Linked DNA regions of Homo sapiens: region 2 is linked to region 1. The links are contacts of gene promoters, found by promoter capture Hi-C in blood cells and fetal thymus (Javierre and others, 2016). All regions are on one chromosome and are shown on one strand. The core of a region is centred on a gene start or on the middle of the fragment in contact, and the rest is flanking DNA. Distances in the headings are between cores, read along the strand shown. Region 1 holds the start of RLF (RLF zinc finger). Region 2 has its middle 11 kb from the start of RIMS3.

Region 1 (3,234 bases), core at 461-2,960:
TCAGGATATCCCATGAAGGCTCTCTCCTCACCATTGTCTCTACAACACCTCCTTTTCCATCATTACCAAAACCGCACTGGAAATACTGTCATTCCTACCACCTCCCACCAACTGTAAGTTCATCAAGGCTAAGTGCTGTCTTACTCATGTTTCCCCAGCACTTGGTAAAGTCCCTGGCACTATCCTATGAAGTCAGTAAAAATCTGTAAAATAAATGAGCTTACTAAACAGGGATGACTACTACTAAGGAAGCAGAGAACAACAACACGTTAACATTTAATAGTACAGGGCAATGTTGCAGGTTGTACACACAAAAATTGGAGTGGTACAATCCACGGAAAAGATTAGTAAGGACAAAATTCCATTCAGAGAGATGAGGTGCTTCTGCCTCGGCAGAGAGAGGGAAGAAAAGCAATCAAGCAAGCTAACTTTTATTCTACTCCGGACCAACAGAGCAAATTGCCCCCCAAAATTATTATTTTAGAACGCCGCAATTTATTCAGCATACTGGACTACTTATTAGACTCCAAGTACCAACATGCCACGATTATTTTGCATTTTCTAAGGTACAACAGATAAGGAGCTGATGGGTGCCTCTGAAACCTGACAGAACAAACATTGGAAGCAGAAATAATAATGGCCAATATTTGTATTTGTAAAAGACTTGAAAACATACAGAAAAATCTCGGAGTGGTCATGGAGACTAAACTAAACACACCCATAAATATGTAATCATAGGTTAGGACCCACCAAGGCACAGAAATGATCATACGACTGCCAAAAGAGGCCACACTCTACATCCCTCTTCCCATCCTCTTCTACTCAAAGAGTCAGCCTTATTCTCGGTAGCACAATCCTCTCAAAGAAATACAGAAAAGACGAAAGAACGGCTTAAACGTAAAAAAAAAAAAAGCAAAAACCAAACAACCAACCGGCTCCGCAATCCCTAATCAGAAAGCTCTAGACGCCTTTCGAAGCCAACTGTCATACCTTTTAGGAGCCCAGAAGATGTTAACTCCAAAAATAAGTCTCTGGCCCCAACACACCTCTCTGGATTATTCAGAAAAACCCGGGTTTACCAGTTCGGAGATCTGCACTCCACTCAAAAAAGGATCTCCCGGCAGGGACAAGCAATCAATCCCTCAGGGGGCAGTGGCGCTCCAACCACCCGGCCAGGACACAGGCAACGGCGACAGGGCACAGCCCTTCCAGGGACCCGCCAGGGCCCTCCGGGATCTCAGTAAGGCTCAGAGCAAAACGACCCAGCGGTGGCCAAAGTCGGGCAGTGGCGCAGGGGGGCCAGCGGTCGAGCTTCCGAGCTGGGCCTTCCCGGCCCGGGGGCGCGGCGAGTCACGGAGGTGGCGCCTTTCAGTTTGGACCCGGCTGCTTACAGAGGATCCAGGGCCTCCTTCCCTGACTTCCCCGCCCCGCCGCCCTCAGCCAGCCAGTCAGCCCCTCACCTGGCAGAAGCTCCGGCAGTAGTTCAAAGATGAGACCTCCGACACCTCTTGCTCCCTCAGCTCTGTCTCCAGCTGCCACAGACACGGCCGCAGTCCCGAGGCTCCCGGCGCTGGAGATACGGGGCGATGACCCCGAACCATGGACTCAGTCTCGACTCCATCTCCGGCTCCCGCTACCGCCGGAGCCTCAGCCCCAGCCCCGGCGACAGCGGCGGCGTCTCCCTTTCCGTCCGCCATCTTCCCACGGCCCACCAGCGCGTAGGCAACCAAGCCACGTGACTCAGCCCTGGCCCTGCCCCCGGCCGCCCGCGCACTGTGACGCACTCCTTAGCGACGCGGGCGCCCGCCTGATTCCGTCACTCGGACTCCGGGTGCTCTCAGTGGCCTACGCATCGCCAGTCCTGACAACAGCCTAGCAACAACTGGCTAGAGGCTATGCCCACCTAGACCCCTTTGAGGTCATGGGATCACGGAGCCAGAAATGCCTGTAGAGCAATCTAGATTTGAGGGGGATGACATTTGAACTGCGATCTGAAGGGACAAGAGGAAGGTAGCCCTGAAAGGAACATAGCGAAAAGCATCCCTGGTAGAAGGAAAATAAGCAAAGATTGTGAGGCCGAAATGAAGAGTAACATCAAGGGAACTTGGTTTATGATACAGACGGCATTACAAGTCAGTGGGCGAAAGGACAGACTCTTCAATAAATGGCGATGAGACATTTTTTCCAAAAGGGAAATAAATGATTAGATTTCTACCTCAAACCATTTCCAAAAATAAGGCCGAGATGGATTAAAGACCTGCAAACATTTTTCAGAAAATAAAAATAGCTTTATAATGTCAAAAATAGGGAAGAATTTTTTTTTTTTTTTTTAGACGGAGTCTCACCCTTGTTGCCCAGGCTGGAGTGCAACAGTGCTATCTCAGCTCACCGCAACCTCCGCCTCCTTGGTTCAAACATTCTCCTGCCTCAGCTTCCGGAGCAGCTGGGATTACATGCATGCGCCACCATACCTGGCTAATTTTGTATTTTTAGTAGAGATGGGGTTTCTCCATGTTGGTCAGGCTGGTCTCGAACTCCTGACCTCAGGTGATCCGCCCGCCTCAGCCTCCCAAAGTGCTGGGATTAGAGGCGTGAGCCACCGCGCCCGGCTAAGAATTTCTTAATAAGACCGGAAAAGCACAAACCATAAGGGAAAATATTTAGATTTGACTGTATTAAAATGTGTTACTTCCGTATAACAAGTTGAAAAAGCACACAAAGACAAGCCACAGACTAAATGATATTCCCCATATATATAACCATTGTTTATTGTTGTTGTTTTTTGAGACAGGGTCTCACTCTGTCACCCAGCCTGGAGTGCAGTGGCACGATCTAGGCTCACTGCAACCTCTGCCTCTCAGGTTTAAGTGATTCTCGTGCTTCAGCCTCCCAAAGTAGCTGGCACTATAAGCGTCCGCCACCATGCCTGGCTAATGTTTGTATTTTTAGTAGAGGCGGGGTTTCACTGTGTTGGCCAGGCTGATCTCGAACTCCTGGCCTCAAGTGATCCGCCCGCCTTGGCCTTCCAAAGTGCTGGGATTACAGGCGTGAGCCACCGCGCCCAGCCATAACCATTGTTTTGATTAGTATCCAAAACAGTTCCCGGGCTGGGCGAGGTGGCTCACGCCTGTAATCCCAGCACTTTGGGAGGCCGAGGCGGGCAGATCACGAGGTCAGGAGATCAGGACTATCCTGGCTAACACGGTGAAACCCTGTCTCTACTAAAAATACAAA
Region 2 (3,397 bases), core at 341-2,840, 520 kb before region 1:
AACAGTGTTTTCCAACAGAATTTATTCTTGCCATTACCCAAGGAACAGTATTGAAAACATTACATCCAACCTAGCTTACTTCTGTGACCTCCTGGTGCTTCGCAAGCCACTGTGGGACAGCTAAGTCTCTGTAGAGGGTACAGGTTAAGATTATGAATGATCCCTGCAGGCACCAAAGGGGCATACATGTCAAGAACACGACTTTTCTTCAAGGTCCCTTGCCTTGGCTAGCAGTGTGCAAAATAGGGTTGGGCAGGTCTTGAGAAAATGACTATAAACATTAAGTGTGATCCTTTTTTTTTAATTAATTATTTATTTATTTATTATTTTTTGAGATGTAATCTCGCTCTGTCACCCAGGCTGGAGTGCAGTGGTGTGATCTCAGCTCACTGCAAGCTCCGCCTCCTGGGTTCACGCCATTCTCCTGCCTCAGCCTCCCAAGTAGCTGGGACTACGGGCGCCCGCCACCATGCCTGGCTAATTTTTTGTATTTTTAGTGAAGACGGGGTTTCACCGTGTTAGCCAGGATGGTCTCGATCTCCTGACCTCGTGATCCGCCTGCCTTGGCCTCCCAAAGTGCTGGGATTACAGGCATGAGCCACCGCACCCGGCCAAGTGTGATCCTTGATTGTAAGCCTTATAGATCCTACTGAGCCATCAACCTGCTTTGTGACCTTGGGCAAGTCACTTAATCAAGTTCAATCTCAATATTTCCACCTTATATTAGGCCGGCACGGTGGCTCACACCTGTAATCCCAGCACTCTGGGAGGCTGAGGCGGGCAGATCACCTGAGGTCAGGAGTTCGAGACCAGCCTGGCCAACATGGTGAAACCCCATTTCTACTAAAAATAATTTTTAAAAAATTAGCTGGGCATGGTGGTGCACACCTGTGATCCCAGCTATTCAGGTTGTTGAGGCAGGAAAATCACTTGAACCTGGGAGGCAGAGGTTGCAGTGAGCTGAGATTGCACCACTGCACTCCAGCCTGGGTGACAGAGAGAGACTCTATCTCAAAAAAAAAAAAAAATTCCACCTGTTTTTAAAAAAGGCATAGGAATAATTTATTTTACATTATTTGAAAATAAATTGTCCTAAGGGGGTAGAGGGAATGGGAGAAGTGATAGATATTATCCAGGTATTATCCTCTGCCTCTCCTTCTTGTCCATCCTGCCTGAGTTTTTTTCATCAAGTAAGATGATAAGTGTTAAAATGCTCTGAAAAGTGCAAAACACCATACAAAAGCAAGGGAGTATTATTATCAACATAGTTGTTAGCTTAGGAGGATGAAGGCAGGGCACAGGCTCAGAGCCAAACAGCTGGAAGGCAGGAAATCTTAATACCAAAGAAGGAAACTTTTTTTGTTCAAATTCTTCCTGGAGTGGCACTTTTTTTTAGAGCAGATTTGGCACTGAAATCCTCTGAAATGCTGAAGTGGGTCCAGAAAAGTATTAAGGGGGTACGTAGGGCATTCAGGAGCCAAAAGACACTGGAGAAACACCAGCCCTGGTTCCTCAGTTCCTTTGTGATCCAACAAAAGATACAATCGAAGGAGGAGTCGAATTGTATCAGCGGGTCTCAGGTTCAAAGCCAGGTGGGTGTTGGATCCTCTAACAGGCTCTTTAACCAGCCACCACGCTATTTTGGGAGCCAGGATGTCAGGGGCACTCTGTAACTAATACTGAACTCAGGTGCCAACAACCTAAAAACCATCCCCTCTACACAGTGTTCAGAAAGAACACTGACCTGGAGAGGACTTTAGAGACAATCTAGTCAGACCGAGGCTCAGAGAGGGGCAGGGACTTGCCAAGATAACACAGTAGAGTCAGGCTCATTGGGCTGCAGAAGCCCACCCAATTTAGCTCAAGTACAAAGGAGTTTCTTGTAAAGACTGGAACTGAAAGGCAGGATGAAGGATAGAGGTCTAGGACTCACTGGTCTATTTATTCTCTATCTTCTCACCACTCCTCATCACTGGATAGGATTGCTCCTTCCCCCTCTACCTACAGTCAGGCTTCTGCCTTCTCTTGGTCTCTGATCCTACTTCTCTGGGCCTGCACATGGCTTTCCTGGCCAAGACCTACTTGTCTATGACTTTTTTTTTTTGACAGGGTCTTGCTCTGTCACCCAGGCTGGAGTACAGTGCCACGATCATCACTCACTGCAACCTCTGCATCCTGGGCTCAAACAATCTTCCTGCCTCAGCCTCCCAAGTAGCTGGGACTACAGGCATGTGTCACTATGCCTGGCTAATTTTTTTTTTTTTTTTTTTTGAGATGGAGTTTCACTCTTGTTTCCCAGGCTGGAGTGCAATGGCACGATCTCAGCTCACCGCAACCTCCGCCTCCCAGGTTCAAGTGATTCTCCTGCCTCAGCCTCCTGAGTAGCTGAGATTACAGGTGTGTACCACCACGACTGGCTAATTTTTGTATTTTTAGTAGAGACAGGGTTTCACCATGTTTGCCAGGCTGGTCTCGAACTCCTGACCTTAGGTGATCCTCCTGTCTCAACCTCCCAAAGTGCTGGGATTACAGGCATGAGCCACCGTACCCAGCCTAATTTTTATATTTTTTGTAGAGACAGGGCTTTGCCATGTTGCTTAGGCTGGTCATGAATTCCTGGACTCAAGTGATCCACTTGCCTCAGCCTCCCAACCGGTTGGAATTACAGGCATGAGCCACCATACCTGGCTGTCTCTGACTTCTCTACTTCAACTCCTTCTGCCACCTGACAATTTCTTTCCTTTTTTTTTTTTCCTGAGACAGGGTCTCACTCTATCACCCAGGCTGTAGTGCAGTGGCATGGCACGATCTTGGCTCACTGCCACCTCTGCCTCCCAGGCTCAAATGATCCTCCCACCTCAGCCTCCAAAGTAGCTGAGAATACAGGCATGCACCACCATGCTTGGCTAATTAAAAAAAATTTTTTTTCCTTTCGTAGAGACAAAGTCTCACTGTTGTCCAGGCTGGTCTTGAGCTCCTGGGCTTAACTGATCCTCCCACCTTGACCTCTCGAAGTTCTGGGGTTTTGTGTGTGAGGCGCCATGCCTGGGACAACAATGTCTTTCTCTTCCTTGGTTCAATAAAGCCTCGAATCAGCCCATCTTAGATTGTTGTGCTAGGTTGTCTTAGTTCATTTTGTGCTGCTATATCAGAATATCTGAAACTAGGTAATTTATAAGGTATAGAAATATATTTCTTACAGCTCTAAAGCCTGGTAAGTCTAAGGTTTAGGGGTGCACACCTGGCAAGGGCCTTCTTGCTGTGTATTCCATGGCAGCAGGTGAAGGGCAAGAGAGCAAGACAGCATGAGAGGGACAGAGAGAAGGGGAGAGAGAAAGAGAGAGAGAAGAAGAAATGGGGTTGAATGCATCCTTTTATCAGGAACCCACTCCCTCAA

The links. The method cuts DNA at HindIII sites, captures the fragments that hold promoters and counts their contacts. A CHiCAGO score of 5 or more calls a contact.
Region 2: a fragment that was not itself captured here is called in contact with the fragment with the promoter of RLF in region 1 in 1 of 17 cell types (neutrophils); the score reaches 5.4 in neutrophils.

Annotation. Positions count from the first base shown.
Region 1 is chr1:40,159,863-40,163,096 of GRCh38, reverse strand. RLF (RLF zinc finger) reads right to left here and starts at 1,710. Exons shown (of 8, transcript NM_012421.4): 1 at 1,461-1,710. The coding sequence starts at 1,697. It overlaps LOC105378671 (a long non-coding RNA gene), which reads left to right and starts at 1,819. Exons shown (of 3, transcript XR_947232.3): 1 at 1,819-2,132. RefSeq lists enhancers at 806-1,421, 1,425-1,934, 1,422-2,038 and a silencer at 3,047-3,234. The HindIII fragment of the contact is 5,693 bases long and covers 1-3,234 here.
Region 2 is chr1:40,674,633-40,678,029 of GRCh38, reverse strand. It overlaps a transcript of RIMS3 not described here. Among named protein-coding and RNA genes, the nearest start is that of RIMS3, 11 kb to the right of the region's middle. The HindIII fragment of the contact is 4,589 bases long and covers 1-3,397 here.